Regions from separate parts of the Homo sapiens genome. Here regions 2 and 3 are each linked to region 1. Evidence: promoter capture Hi-C in human tissues and cell types (Jung and others, 2019). All regions are on one chromosome and are shown on one strand. Each heading gives the region's core, a stretch centred on a gene start or on the middle of the fragment in contact. The rest is flanking DNA. Distances are from core to core; before and after follow the strand shown.

The links. Contacts are between HindIII fragments. The study calls those that stand out against the background at their distance.
Region 2: a fragment that was not itself captured here is called in contact with the fragment with the promoter of PIGZ in region 1 in 2 of the 25 tissues and cell types used here (dorsolateral prefrontal cortex and lymphoblastoid cells).
Region 3: a fragment that was not itself captured here is called in contact with the fragment with the promoter of PIGZ in region 1 in 1 of the 25 tissues and cell types used here (dorsolateral prefrontal cortex).

Annotation. Positions count from the first base shown.
Region 1 is chr3:196,966,339-196,971,342 of GRCh38, forward strand. It overlaps PIGZ (phosphatidylinositol glycan anchor biosynthesis class Z (Gwada blood group)), which reads right to left and starts at 2,495. Exons shown (of 3, transcript NM_025163.4): 1 at 2,349-2,495. LOC124906255 (collagen alpha-1(I) chain-like) reads left to right here and starts at 2,795. Exons shown (of 3, transcript XM_047449439.1): 1 at 2,795-2,911; 2 at 3,058-3,874; 3 at 3,963-5,004. The coding sequence starts at 2,795. The coding sequence ends at 3,873. RefSeq lists enhancers at 2,072-2,607, 2,608-3,143, 3,144-3,679 and silencers at 2,215-2,664, 2,725-2,934, 2,945-3,004, 3,115-3,174, 3,285-3,604 and 1 more. The HindIII fragment of the contact is 30,202 bases long and covers 1-5,004 here.
Region 2 is chr3:197,531,168-197,536,171 of GRCh38, forward strand. It overlaps BDH1 (3-hydroxybutyrate dehydrogenase 1), which reads right to left. Exons shown (of 8, transcript NM_203314.3): 4 at 2,322-2,394; 5 at 1,245-1,355. Among named protein-coding and RNA genes, the nearest start is that of BDH1, 22 kb to the right of the region's middle. The HindIII fragment of the contact is 6,211 bases long and covers 1-5,004 here.
Region 3 is chr3:197,507,449-197,512,452 of GRCh38, forward strand. It overlaps BDH1 (3-hydroxybutyrate dehydrogenase 1), which reads right to left. Exons shown (of 8, transcript NM_203314.3): 8 at 2,335-4,916. The coding sequence ends at 4,447. It overlaps LINC02012 (long intergenic non-protein coding RNA 2012), which reads right to left and starts at 2,213. Exons shown (of 1, transcript NR_145451.1): 1 at 1-2,213. RefSeq lists a silencer at 750-1,044 and an enhancer at 4,304-4,841. The HindIII fragment of the contact is 6,420 bases long and covers 1-5,004 here.

The DNA of each region.
Region 1 (5,004 bases), core at 1,245-3,744:
TGAAGAAAATATGCAGACATAAGTGGTTGCTTTCTTTATCCATCTTGCTTAACTGCCCTAACCCCCAAGAAGTCTTCCCTAACCCTCCTTCTGAAGGACCCTGTGCAAAACTCTGCAGGCGCCATGCGCTGACTGTTGTCTGATTATTTCTCTGCCCTGCTTGGCTGAGGTCTCCCAGGCATGGAGTCCCTTTGAGATTCATCTCCAGCCTGGGTGGGCCCACTGGGGCCCATCTGTCAAGGACAGAGCAGGAGGTCCTCCGGAGAAGGTGACAACGTAGTGGGGCATCGACCATAACAAATGCGGGAGCTCCAGGGAACGACCCCCGCCCGCTGGCGTCTCTCCAGTCTGAGACCCCACTGGAGGAGCTGTCCATGTGGCTGCCTCTCGCCTTTTATCCCAGGGGACAGAGCCAACGCCAAGCATGGCAACCACCCACCTTAACCTAATCAGGATGCAGCCTGCTCATTAATTCATTCATTCATTCAGAGGGATCTGTCCGGGTGCGGGTCCAGCACGGGTCCAAATCCTGCATCTCCAGTAGCCTCCTGGGGGTCGGTCGTCGGGAGGGCTCGTGAGCGGAAGGCTTTAGGATGAAGCGACAGGGCCCAGAGTCGTGGAGATTGGACTGGGGGGCAGGGGAGCAGGCATTGACAACCACGCCGACAGGGGCATCCCGCGCGCCTGTGTGGGAGAATGTGTAGGGCAAGCAGCAGGGAGAGACCATCTCAGAGACAGGGGAACAGCCAAGCAGAAACCACTGTGCTGGGCGCGGGGGGAGGCCGGGAAAGACAGCACATCTGCGGGGCGGGAGGAGGGGAGGGAAGGGAGTAGAAACACTGCTCCCGCCAGCCGCGGGTGATGGGGACACGTGTCCAGCTCGCTGAGTCCGAGGGCCTGGGCCCGCTTTGGGTGCCCTGTTTCTCCGGCGCCCAGGTGTGTGCGCAGAACCGTGTCTGCTCCAGGGACAGCCGTGAACGAGCGCCGTCCGGAGTGGCAGGGCCATCAGGTGTGGCTCATTCCAAGAAAGGTCCGTACCTTCACATGTAAACTTCCTGGCAAAGCTGCTGGGTTGCCGCTTATGGGAGAAGGCGGCGGGCCCAAGGTTCGGCCCCTTTGTCTGAATCTGGCATTTGGAGCAGGCTTTAAGACTTCGGGAAAAGCCGGGCCCCTGTGCAACCACCAAAGGCTGCTTCTCCCGCCCTCAGGACTAAGATCTTGTTCCAGTCCTCCAGTCCTCGGGGTCTACTCCAGGGGTACAAGGTGAGAGTGGCTCTCCAGAGTCCATTTGCCTTTTGGTGCCGCACTGCATCCTCACTTTGACCCTGAGCGCTGCAGTAAGCCCTGCAGGGTGCTCCACCTTGAAGCACGGGAAGATCTGATGCTGGCCGCCTTCTTCCTTCGGTTGCCTGAAAGGGCCCGTGTTTATCCTTCGCTTCACAGAGAACGCAACACACAACATTAAACACACATAGAGAGTGAAAGAGAACAAGGCATCTTCATCAAGGAGGGCGCACCATTTAACCACCCGCGACCTTGCAGTGCGCCTCTGCAAAGTGGGGACTCCGCTCTGTAGCAGGAGATGGGGGTGTTGACGATTTTGAAAGTAGTTCTCAGTTTTCCGAGGCAAAGGTGTCTGGGGCTGACGAATGACTTTTGAGAAGAAGGAATGATGAGAAATGTCCTCATTACAGAACTTTCCCGGCCACACTGTGAGTCCCACGCAAAGACCCCATGACCACCAACCGGAGCGCTGGGTGCTCCCTGGCAGGGTCACCTTTGCTTTTTGCGCGCCCCCATGCCACCCCTGGGGCAGGAGGCCATCCTCTTATCCTGGGAGTGCAGGCCTGGCCCGAAGTGCAGCCCCCGAGGCCGGGAGCCGAGATTCTTCTCGGCTTCGTGCTCAGAGCTTTGCAGCGTGGCATGGTTTCCTCCTCTTGCCCTGTTGCTGTTTCATACCAGGGGGAACTGAGACCCAGTCGGGTTATGGGCCTCCCTGAGAACACTGGCCTCTAGCAGAAGCAGATTCAACCCCAGGCCTCAACCTGCGCCCAGACCCGTGCCCTGGAGTGGAGTTTACCCACTGCCGCCCTTCCTGGGCAAATGTCACCGCTGCCTCCGTCCCCCTAGGTCCGGGGCGGGTCAGTGCTTCGAGCCAGCGGACCCCGGCCTAGGGACAGGTGCCTGCGAGAATGCGGGGGGCGGCCCCCAGCTCCCCTGCCCTCCTCCCTAGAGGCTGGGCCTGCTGGTCTCCCGGCTGCGCGCAAGGTGGGAACGCGGCCGACTTGGTCCGCTCGCCCTCCCCGCACCCGCTCCTCTGGAGCCGCTGGGGCTGCGCACCGACTCACCCGCGCGGCCTCCGGGCTGCGCCTTCAGCGCTGGCGGCGTCCTGCCCGGCGAGGGCCAGGGTCCCAGGAGGCCCCGGAGGCGGCGGGACCGCAGGGCGGAGGGGAGGCCGTGGGAGCGGCCGGGCGCGCCTCAGCAGCGCGGAGACTGGGGCCGCCGCCGCCGGCGCAGGGCGGGCCGGGAGGGAGGAGGAGCGCGCGGGCGGGGCCGCCGTGTACGTCCCCGCGCTCCCGCCCGGCCTGGCCCCGCGGTCCCGGAGCGAGCTGGGGCCGCGCTGGGGAGGGTCCTGGGGGCGCCGCCGTCCCTCGGGCCGGGCAACGCCGGGCGGGGACCGGTCTCGCCCCGCCGCGCTCGGGCTCCCTCCCCGGCGGCCCCTCCTCGGCGAACAGCCTTTCGGCGCGGGGGGCTGTTAAACCAGACACCCCAGGCCACACTCCTCTCGTTCGAAATGACCATTTCGGGGTTCTCCGTGGCGGGGAGCTCCGCCGCCGCCGTCCCCCTTCCACGCGCGGGAGGTCGGCGAGGGCAGGGCGGGGACCCGGAGTGCGGCCCCCGGTCCTGCTTCGTGGCCCGAAACGCCTCGCAATGGAGTCACTCATGACAGGGGACTCAGCGCACGGGGCGGCTGCTGAGCCCCGCAGCGATCGGCGGGCGTGAGGGGTTCCCCGGCGTGGTTGCCCGGGAGCCTGTCAGCCCCAGCAGCCCTGACAGGAAAGGGAAGTCGAGAGGAGGCTGAGCGAACGGCCGCCACCCCCGCGGGACGCTGACCCGGGCGGACCCCGAGGGGCCTCTCCCCGCGCCAGAGCGCGGCGTGCGCGGGGAAGCGCGACCCACCGGGGTCGGCGACGGCGCGCGGGGCGGGCGCGGCGGTTCCCTCTCCTCCGCCCGTGCCCGTGGGATCGGCGGGCTTGTCGGGCTGGGAGAGCCTCGTGGAACCCGGGCATCCGGGCAGCAGCGGCCTCCGAGCCACTGTGGAGGCGCCCGGGGTCGGCACGGCGAGGCCGACGGGGACCTGACACGGTCACGCGGCGCCGGGGAGCAGGTTCGAGTGGCCGGGCGTGGCCGTGCTGCCCCTCCGCGTTCCGCAGGCGGCGACGGGCGAGCGGCCCTAGCGGGCTGCAGGGAGGACGCCGCGTGGACGGAGAGCCGGCGCCCGGGGGCCAGATCCCCTCCCGGGACGGGGCGCCAGGTCCCCGCGAGCTGCGGCGCGACGCGCGGGCACCCGTGTCCCACCCGGTGGCCTCGCCGCTGCGGGCTGCGCTGAGAGCGGGGTGGCGCGACGCGGTCCCTCACCGCAGGGGGAAGACGGCACCACCGCGTCCCGGCCGCTGGAGCTTCCCGCCCGCGCCGCCGGCCCGACGCTGCCCCCTGGCGGGAGAGCGCTGCAGGGGCCCCGGCGAGGCCGCAGGACCCGACCTCCCCGCCGGCCTCGCACTCCCGCGCCGCCGCCGAGGGTCGGCAGCCGGATCGCCCTCCGTGCCCCATAGCACCCCTCACACTAAAAACGACGACTTTATTAAGATGTGAGGTATTCTATACATACGATAAATACCAGGAAATTTAAGTACAGTACATGGAAGTATACAGTTCCATGAATTTTTTCCTTTATTTTTTAGATACAGGGTCTCTGTCGCCCAGGCTGGAGTGCGGTGGCACGATCTCGGCTCACCGCAGCCTTGAACTTCTAGGCTCCAGCGATCCTCCTGCCTCAGCCTCCCGAGCAGCTGGGACCACAGGCCCCGCCACCATGCCCGGCTCAGTTCCATGACTTCTGACACGCGAAACCACCAGGCTAGTCTCCCCCCGAGTTCAAGAAGTCCTCTCCTCCCAAAAGTACCCTCCTGCCCCTCTGCAGCTAACCCCTCACCTCCCCTCCGCCCTGGTTCCAGACAACTGCTCCTCTGATTTCTGTCACTGCCCTTTGCCTCTCTCGCAATTGCATGCAAGGAGAACCATTCACCGTGTGGTCTTTTGTGCCTGGCTTTCTTCGCTTGGCACCATGCAGCTGAGCGTCGCCCGTGTGGCGTGTGTGTGTTGTATTTTCCTCTACCTTGGTCTTGAGACCTCCCTGGAGAGCCACTGTAAAGGCCAACTCTGCCCTGACAGGGCTCCTGGGATTTGGGCGTGGGTGTTTGCCGTGGGCCTTTCATGGGGCACCTCTGTATCCTGGCTGACCTGTGACCGGGTGTCCCTCTCCCAGGAGACATATTTATCCTGGCAGATCTCCTTGTGCTTCTTGTCTGACCTGTATCTAGTTTATTCCTACCAAGATAGCTGCTCTCTAGGGAAAGCCCTGACCAGGGAAAACGTTACGTTTGAGCGTCTCAGTCAGGCATGACACAGAGCAGGCAACACAACGAAACACAGGAACTAACAGAAGTGGTCCTATTACTTACAGATCCACAGGGGAAGAGGGCACACTGAGGGCCGTCGGGAATGTCTTGGGGACACTGTACACAATCGTTGTGGGGGTGGGGGGAGCCAGAGAGAGACGGACCTGTGGGCTGAGGCTTTTATTGGAGTGCAGGGCATTACTCAAGCAGTTTTCCCAAGGGGAGCTCTAATTGGTTCACCTAGAGGAGCGAACTGGAGTCCTGTGGGGCCACCTTGTGACTTAGGGGTGGTCACTGAGACATATCTGCATAGTCCATGCAGGGT
Region 2 (5,004 bases), core at 829-3,328, 560 kb after region 1:
AGTGGATCACCTGAGGACAGGAGTTTGAGACCAGTCTGGCCAACATGGTGAAACCCCGTCTCTAATAAAAATACAAAAATTAGGTGGGCATGGTGGCTCATGCCTGTAGTCCCAGCTACTCGGGAGGCTGAGGCAGGGGAATCACTTGAACCCGGGAGGCAGAGGTTGCAGTGAGCCAAGATTGCACCCACTGCACTCCAGCCTGGGAGACAAAGTAAGACTCTGTCTCAAAAACATAAATTAAAAAAAAAATATATATATATATATATGTGTATATATATATATACATATATGTATATATATATAGCATAGGCACACAACAGAATACCACTCAGCAATACAAAGGAATGAGCTACTGATGCATTCTGCAACATGGATGACTCTCAAAAACATCACACTAAGTGTTCAAGAAGTGTGGCACAAAAGGCCATGTATTGTATGATTTCATGTAGATGAAAAGTCCAGAAAATGCAAACCTAAAGAAATAGAAATCAGTGGCTGCTCAGGGCTAGAGGTATATGTGGAGATTAACTGCCAATGGTCAAGAGAGAGAATTCTGAGTGATGGACGTATTCTAAAGTGGATTGTGGTGGTGGGCGCACAACTTTCTAACTGGGGCACTGCCCACTGTTTGCTTTTGCAGTCTCGGGTCCCAGTGCTTCCCTTCATGCACCTTAAATTCTACTTAATGTGTCCCGAAGGAGCCTCATGCTTTCAAGCCTCTGCCCAGGCTATTCCTCCCGTCCAGCAGGTAACTCCTCCCAGTCTCCACCTGTGGCAGTGTTATTTACTCGCCATGGCCCAGAACAAATGTCACTTCCTCTGGCATGCCATCATCAATCCCTTCCTCCTACACAGTCTCGCCGAACATTCTCGCACACCCCTGAGAATCTGCTTCACTCGAATTCTTCAGCTGTGTCTATGCATGGCTGTCTCCTCACCACTCGACAGGGAGCAACTTCAGGGCAGGGACAAGGTCTCATTCTTCTACTGCACCTAGCAAAGTGTCAGGTACATCATAGCATTTGACGAATGATGGATAGATGAGAGGATGGATGGATGGATGGATGCATGGATGATGGATGGACAAAGCTATGAAGAACAAGTGGGACTGAAGCCGATGGAAAATGGACAGGCTGGTTTAAGCAAAGGTGAGCCAGTTGTTAGGAAAGCACTTTTTAAAAGACTAAAAAACAATGACTATGTGTAAAAGACAATGGTGAAGAAGATAACTCGTCTCTTACCTTCATCAAGCAGCCAGCAAACACAAGGAAGCCTTTTGAATGCAGATGCTTGGCCAATGAGAACCCAAATCCAGAGTCACAGCCTGTGACCAGGACAGCTTTGCTGCCAACCTGTTTTACAAGGTCAGATTCCATGTTAGGAACCGGTGGTACAGGGGCAAAGTGACCAGGCCTCTCCACCCTCTGTGCAGTGAGAGTTAGTGCTTCCTGAGTGGCCCAAGCCTGGCCCTCCCTACCTTGTTCTTGTTGTCTGGAGAAGCACCATGGTATAGTGGAAAGGCCAGGTTCTAACCCAGACTCGGCTACCAACCAGCAATGTTGCTTGGGAAAATTACTTCTGCCTTCAGGATCTCATCTACAATCCCCCATGCTACATGTGAGAAACAGAGGTCTTTTTAAAACGCTCAATGTAGCTAGTGATAGAGCTGGAACTGAAACCAGGGCTGAGAGATTCCAGAGTCTAAACTCTTCTTCTTTTTTTTGAGATGGAGTTTGGCTCTTGTTGCCCAGGCTGGAGGGCAATGGCCAGTCTCGGCTCACCGCAAAACCTTCACCTTCCAGGTTCAAGCAGTTCTCCTGCCTCAGCCTCCCAAGTAGCTGGGATTACAGGCATGCACCTCCACGCCCGGCTAATTTTGTATTTTTAGTAGAGATGGGGTTTCTCCATGTTGGCCAGGCTGGTCTTGAACTCCCTACCTTAGTTGATCCACCCACCTCGGCCTCCCAAAGTGCTGGGATTACAGGCGGGAGCCACCGCCCTGGGCCTCCGGAGTCTAAACTCTTAACCCCTAACTTGCTGGGTGGGGCTGGGAGTTCTCGCCCCCCACCTAGGCCTCCAGTGATACCTTCCTGGCTGGGAGGGGCTGGAGTGCCTCATTACTGCTTCCTCCCCACATGGATGGGGGTGTGTGAGCTCATTACTGATGAGGGGCTTTGGGGGAGGGTTAAGTGAGAAAGTGGCTCCCAGTGTCCTGGAAACACTAAGGCCCCACTCTGAGGGTAGCTCAGGGCCTAGGGGCCCAGAAGAAAGGGTTCTGACCATCCAACTGGCTCCCGGGTAGCTGGGCTTCCACTCACCGGCTCCGCCGCACTGGCATAAGTCCGACGGCCAATCGGGATAAAGGAAGTAGAACCAAGCAATAGTGGGCGTCTGCAAGAGAAAAGGAAGCCGTGAGTACAAGGACAGACTAGACAGACCCTCAGCCACACTGGCCTAGAGCAGCACTGGGTGTCTCTCCAGCCCCGGCTCCTGGAGACAGCTTGCTGGTACAACTGAGTAAGAGGCCCTCTTTCCACCAGGGTTGCTGGCTGATAGAAAGTGAGCCAGTATTTGCTATGGCTATGTTTGCCACTGTCCAGGAAGAGCCTTCCTGAGAATAAAGCCAATTCTGAAGCTACTTTTGTTGGGCAGGCTCTGCTAAACCCTGGCCATCCAGTGTCCCACTCCAATAAAGTTCCATTTTCTGCTTTCCAAGATGACATGGATAGGTAATGTTTCAAGCTAATTCAAGTGTGAACTATCCTTGTAGTAGTATAGCTTTGTTAAAGCCTGCTGCAATTTTGATGTCTTAATCCACAGTAGGCTAAGCTTCCTGAGAGTTACTTCAATCATACTTTTTATTTTGAAATAATTGTAGATTCACATGCAATTAAGAAATAATACAGAGAGATGCCAGGTCTTACCTCATTTCCCCTAAGGGTAGTATCTTGCAAAACTGTATTACCATATCACAACCAGGATACTGACACGGATACAATAAAAATACAGAAATTTCCATCACCACAAGGATCCTTCATGTTACCCGTTTATAGCCACACCTACTTTCTTCCCACCCGGCTCCATCTTTAACCACAAATCTGTTCCCCATCTCTGTAATTTTAGAATTTCAAGAATGTTATGTAAATGGCATCATACAGTATGTATCCTTCAGGGGCTGGCTTTTTTCATTCAACATAATTCTCTGGAGATTCATCCAGATTGTTATGTATCAATAATTTGCTCCTTGTTATTGCTAGGTAGTGCTCCATGACACAGGGGTATGACAATTTGCTTAACTATTTACCTACTGAAGGACAGCTGAGTTGTTTCCTGTTTGGGCATATTATGAATAAAGCTGCTTGAACATTCCTACACAGGTTTTTGCGCAAACGTTGAGTTTTCATTTCTCTTGGGTAGGTGCCCAGGGGTGTAATTGCTGGGTCATATGGTAGTTGCAGGTTTAGTTTTTTAAGAAACTGACAAACTGTTTATGAAAGTGGCTATAGTACGCTACAGCCCCAGTGGCAGTGTCTGAACAACCCAGTTTCCCCACAGCCTTGTCGGCATTTGGTGGTGTCACTATTTTCTAGTTTAGCCATGCTGAAAACTGTATCATGATATTTCGCTGTGGTTTTAATCTGCATTTCCCTAATGGCTAATGATGTTGAACATCTTTTCATGTTTATTTGTCACCTGTCTTAGTCTGTTTGGGCTGCTATAACAAAATATCATAGACCGGGTGGCTTACCAACAACAGACTTATATTCCTTACAGTTCTGGAAGCTGGGGAGTTGAAGTGCAAAGTGCCAGCAGACTGTGTTTGGTGAGGGCCCACTTTCTTCATAGACAGATGTCTTCTCACTGTAACCTCACATGGCAAAGGTCTCTTTTATAAAGACACTAATCCCATCCATGAGGACTCCACCTTTATGACCTAATCACTTCCCAGGGCCCCTGCCTCCTAATACCAATACCTTGGGGGTTAGGATTTCAACACAGGAATTTGAGGAGAATGCAAACATTCGGACCATAGCACCCTATGTTTGGTAAAATGCCTCTTCATGTCTTTTGCCCATATTCTATTGAATCGTTCATTCTTCTACCCCGTTGAATGTTGAGAATTCTTCAGATGTCCTAGCTGCTAGTCCTTGGTTACATATGTGGTAGGCAAAATTTTTCTCCTAGCCTATGACGTGCCTTTTTATCCTCTGTAGCAGGGTCTACTGCAGGGGCAAAAGTATTTCACTTGGACTCGGAATCAGGAAACCAGGGGTTGTAACCCAGACTCTGCCACCAACCAACAACGTTGCTTAGAGAAATTACTTCTGCCTTCAGGATCTCAGTGTCCTCGTCTACAATCATCCATGCACCACGTGGGACAACAGAGGAATTTTCAATGCCCAATGTAGTTAGTGATAGAGCTAACTAGTGAAACCAAGGCTGAGAGAGTCCAGAGTCTAAACTCTTAACCCCTAAATAAAGTCTAGTATTTTCCTATTATGCGGCATGCTTTTGATGTCAAGTCTCAGAGCTCTTTGCCCCCAGGACCCAAAGATTTTCTTCTATGTTCTTTTCTAAAAGTTTTATAGTTTTGGCTGGGATGGTGGCTCATGCCTGTAATCCCAGCGCTTTGGGAGGCTGAGGTGGGCAGATTGCTTGAGCTCAGGAGTTCGAGAACAGCCCGGGCAACATGGCGAAACCCCATCTCTACAAAAAATACGAAAATTAGTCAGGTGTGGTGGCTCACGCCTTTAAGTCCCAGCTACTTGGAAGGCTGAGGCAGGAAGATCAACTGAGCCCAGGAGGCAGAGGTTGCAATGAGCTGAGATTGCACCACTGCACTCCAGCCTGGGGGACTGAGGGAGACCCTGTCTCAAAAAAAAAAAAAGTTTTATAGTTTTATGTTTTACTTCTTAAGTCTATGATCCATTAATTTTTGTATAAGACGTCAGACTTAGGTCTAAGTTTTGTGTCCATTTGCTCCAGCGCCATTTTTTGAAA
Region 3 (5,004 bases), core at 1,498-3,997, 540 kb after region 1:
CTTGGCCACTTCCAAATATCTGGAAGTCTATTTCAGAAGAGTTAAATTATTCTGTGCAGGTCTGGGTCATAACCAGGTGCCAAAAACATTAAGTGAGGTGGTAGATTTCGGCTCAGTCTTTGGATAAACGTTTCTGAACCAAGGAAATGGCTTCTTAGGAAGTAATGCACCCCCTGTCACTGGAGGGCTTCAAGCCCTGGCTAGCAGGCTCCTCATCCGGGAGCCTGGGAGTCAGGCATGATGATGGCTGAGTCCCCTTTCCTCCCCTGGGGTTGTGGGGGTCCTGGCAGCCTGTCCCAGCCCTGGTCCCTTGCTCAACAGCTGCCCACCCCGTGCCTCCGAATGCGCCACTCGCAAGTCACCCTTCCTTAGTGCCCGCACACACCAGAGAGGCCTCATATACTGTGGGGTTGTTTCATCTCCCCCAGAGCACCAGAGCCCCTCAGCCCTCTTGCTCTGTCTCTTTGAGCAGAAATCATCACTAACTTCTCAAGCACGGCGCTCATATAACCCTCAAGCCCTTTGAGGGCAGCTCCAGAATCCAGCTCTGCCTGCTTGGTCTTTGAATTCCTAGAGCCTGCTCTCGGGAATGGCCTTGACAGAGCCGACTTCCCGCTGGAAGGATACTGGGGGCTCCTCCAGCACATTCTCTCACAGGGGGCAGCACTTAGAGCCCAAAACGGGAAGGGAAGGAGGGTCTGGCTCGAGTGGCAGGACCCCATGGTTGCTACTGTGCGTAGGCTGAGAGTCTCCTCGCTGTTACGTAACTGAGGACTTCTTCCCTCCCTATTTTAGATCCTGCTGCCATCTGCCCTGATTTTCCGCATCACCAGCTCTGGGCTGGAGGTTAGATCTGGCTGGACACCCAGCTCTACCCCTCACTTGGTGACAGACTTGGGAAAGCCTGTTTCTGCAAAATAAGATAACCCCACCCTGCCTATCCTGCCTGGGTTGCTGTGAGAATCAGGTGAGAGGAAGCTGTGGTGGCTGGGTAGCAGGACCTGCACTTGGCCCCTGTGCCTGGTTGCTGTCTGGCCAACCCAACCTGGGGCTGCCTGAGCCAGGGGAGCCTCTGCTTGCTCATGTCGGCTCCTATATCAACACAGTTTGCACAGGTTTGCAGAGCCAGGCCCTGTTCGAAATACAGGCAGTGAACAGACCTCACAAATGGGGAGTCTTTGTCAGACCCCCTGCCATGGGTGGCAAGGGTGCAGACCTAGCAGCTTGTGACAGGCGGGGCCAGGCTGGCTGTCACCTGCTCACACAGCCTCTTGGCCCCGGGTGGAATGCTAAGCACAGCAGGTGCTCTGTAACAAGGCACTGTCAGGCGCATCTTGCAAGAAGCCCTTGCCCAGCCTCCAACCATCAGGGGATGGGTTTGTGCTGGCTGGAGTCACCAGACCATAGGTCCGCACAGGCAAAGGCCTCCTTCCTACTTACTCTGACAAGAAGGAGCGGCTCTCTGCCAGCAGACAAGCAGTGAGGGTCTAGGTGCCTGGTGACCCCAACTGGCTTTGCTTCCAGGGCTGTTGCGAGCCACAGTGTTATGTGATAGTGAAGAGTGCCACTCAGGAGACTTTTGTTCTGGCCCTGGTCCTGCCGTGGATTTACTGTGACACTGAGTGAGTCACTTTCCTTCTTTGGGCCTCAGTTATGTCATCTATAAAATGGGAATATACACCTGTTTTGTCCTCTCACTCTTTTTTTGTTTTGTTGTTGTTGTTTTGTTTTTTGAGACAGAGCCTCACTCTGTTGCCCAGGCTGGAGTGCAGTGGCATGATCTCGGCTCACTACAACCTCTGCCTCTGGGTTCAGTCGATTCTCCCTGCCTCACCCTCCCGAGTAGCTGGGGTTACAGGCGCCCACCACCACGCCTGGCTAATTTTTGTGCTTTTAGTAGAGACAGGGTTTCACCACGTTGGCCAGGCTGGTCTTGAACTCCTGACCTCAGGCGATCCGACCGCCTGGGCCTCCCAAAATGCTGGGATGACAGGTGTGAGCCACCGCGCCCGGCCACGCACTCTGGTAAAGACGAAAACTACGTCCTGCGCCCCGGTAGGTTCTAAGCTGCCGGAAAGTGAATGGTGAATATGAGGTTTGAGTTAGCACTGGAGTTATTTGGAGGGATGGTAGCCTGGGCTTTTCAATCACTGGAAACGATTAAAAGCCAGAACAACCTGCACAGGCCGGCCCAGCAGTTCTAGCTTACTCAGAAGATCCCAGTAGACGCACATGCAGCTTCTCTGACGTTCGGGTCTGCTGATGGGGACCCAGAGTATGTGGCCCTCCTTCCTCTAGTTCCCAGGCAGGGACGCACACGTGCAACTCCAAGGCTCCATCTATTTTCCTTTAATAAACTTCAGCACGGACACAAATTCGCCCAACATGTAAAAGTGCAATTCCGAAAGGATCCTGCTAGAACAAGGTCCACGGTACAAAAGCATCCTATGGTTATGTAACTGCAGCGGCCACCAAGCGTCCCCCTCTGGGCTCTGGAGGGTTTCGGCCCTGCCTGCCTCCCCCCCTCCTCCTGGGGCAGCTGGGACAGGGGACCCCTGTTTGAAGACAGCGGGGACAACGGCCCGGGAGGCAGCTGAATTGCCCATTGTGAGGCCCTTCTTCCTTGGCACTGCCTGAACCCCGTAGCCCACTCCGGCTGCCCGGGCTCTTCTGCCTTCTCCTGGCACCAGCCTCCGGGCCCGGGCCAGCTGCTAGGAGAGCGAGAACACTGTTTCTGAAGGGTGCTGCTTGCTTCTTTGTTCCCGGTTTCCGAAGCGCGAATCCCGAACGCCGTGAGAAACCTCAGGCTCGGGCGGCAGCGCGGGAGTCTGGGGCGCTGGAGGCCGGCGCCGGCTGCGGAGGAGGAGCGCCCTCTAGCGGCAGGTCCGCCCAGGGAGAGGCGGAAACGCGGAGTCTGATTCGAAGGCGGGCACTGGGGACCCTGCCCCGGGCCGAAAGCCCCCTGGAGGACAGTGGTGTTTGGCTTCGGTCCCAACATACAGGCCCTGGGCAGTCGCAGGGATGGCAGCTTTCAAACTGAAACCCAAGAAGTGATCATGCAGACCCTGCCTCAAGTGGCATCACTTCTTAATTGAAAAGAGGCCGAGGCGAGGCGGGAATGAAGGCCACGCTGAAGCCCTGCAGAACAGGGGTGTGTGTGTGTGTGTGTGTGTGTGTGTGTGTGTGTGTGTGTGTGTGTGTGTGTGTGTGTGTGTGTGTGTGTACATGTGTGTAAGGTGTGTGTGTGTGTGTGTGTGTGTGTGTGTGTGTACATGTGTGTAAGCACCACGTGAGGCAAGCAGGGACCCCAAATCCACTGCTAGGGGAGATGCCACAGTGCCCTGCCATGGCACCACTGCTCGTGCCAAGCCTGCCCCATCGACACCGGCCCCACCCAAGGCAAAACCAAGCAGACCCAAACCAGTAACAACTTATCCCCTTAGCCAGAGAGCACCTCCACACAAGTCTATCCTGAGTCCTAAAAGAGGATGGAAAAATCTCAAGTAAAAATCTCATGCCTGTAATCCCAGCACTTTGGGAGGCCAAGGCAGGCGGATCACTTGAAGTCGGGAGTTCGGGACCAGCCTAGCCAACATGGTGAAACCCCATCTCTACTAAAAATACAAAAATTAGCCCGGCATGGTGGTGGGTGCCTATAACCCCAGCTACTTGGAAGGCTGAGGCAGGAGAACCGCTTGAACCAGGGAGGCGGAGGTTGCAGTGAGCGGAGATGGTGCCATTGCACTCCAGCCTAGGGGACTGAGCAAGACTGTGTCTGGAAAAACAAAAATCTCCAGAAACATTCCCACCCCCTCCATACAGCCAGCTCTGAGTCACTGGCTGCTGGCTGGCCAGTCACACAGCACCATGGACATGCAGAGGTACCAGTGGGCACTTGGTGTGTGCTGCCCAGATGAGGACACAGAGTTAGTCAGAAGATTCTCGGGCAAATGGATCCAAAACAGTCCTGGAATGCAAATGTGAAGTATTTCCACAGCCGTGGCAGGAACACATAACTGGCACTATTTATAAGCGATAAAAGGGTTATTTCATGCATCCTCTTTAAGCTGCAAATGCTTCATTTACAAAAGAAAAAAACCTGTCCTTTTCATTCATGAGACTGGCTTAAGGATCAAATGAGATCTGTTTTTAATATAAAGATGTTTTCTTAAAATCTCTGTATGAAATTATCTCCGGAGAGATAGATTCACCATGTTTGCCCTGAGATTTAGAGGCCTCTGCCTGCCACTCCACACCCTGTTTGTGAAGGCCCAAGTCACTCACTATGCAAAGAAGTCATTCCCTCTAGTTAGTGTTAAAACCAGTTATGGGTCTTCCTGGCATGGTGGATAATCCACACGTGGATAATCAAGAGTTGACTATATGGGTTCCTCCCTCCCCTCCCCTTCCACCAGGGATCCCTGACAGAGGCCACAGCGAGACTCTTCAGCGGATGTAGATCATGTCGGAGATGGCTCCAGGCAAGTGGGTCATGATCTGCATTCGCAGCCACCAGTAGTAGTCCATGGGGTGGTAGCGGGTGTAGGGGGTGGTGGCGGTCAGGGCGTGTGTGACAGCATCGATGACAGGGGACGTGTCTGTGGAGCCACTGCTGCAGTAGGTCTCCATCTTGGCGATCTTTTCATCAAAGTACTTCTTGCCGTAGTCCTTGCGCACGACCTCAGGCAGCTCCTCCCACATCTTCTTGGCGATGGCCTGAATGCTCTCAGGGCTGTAAAGGCTGGTGGCAGCGATGAAGTTGCCGGGCTCCACCACGCTGACCTTCACGCCCAGGGGGTACATCTCATAGCGCAGGCAGTCCGAGAAAGCCTCTACCCCGAACTTGGTGATGCAGTACGGGGAGCGGGCCGGGTTGGCCATGCGGCCCAGCATGCTGCTGATATTGACGACGCGGCCTACAGAGGGAGACAGAGGTACCTGCTAAGCCGTTACTGCCCTATGACACAGCGGGCAGAAGTCTGGCATGTCTCTAGAGGCTTGGCT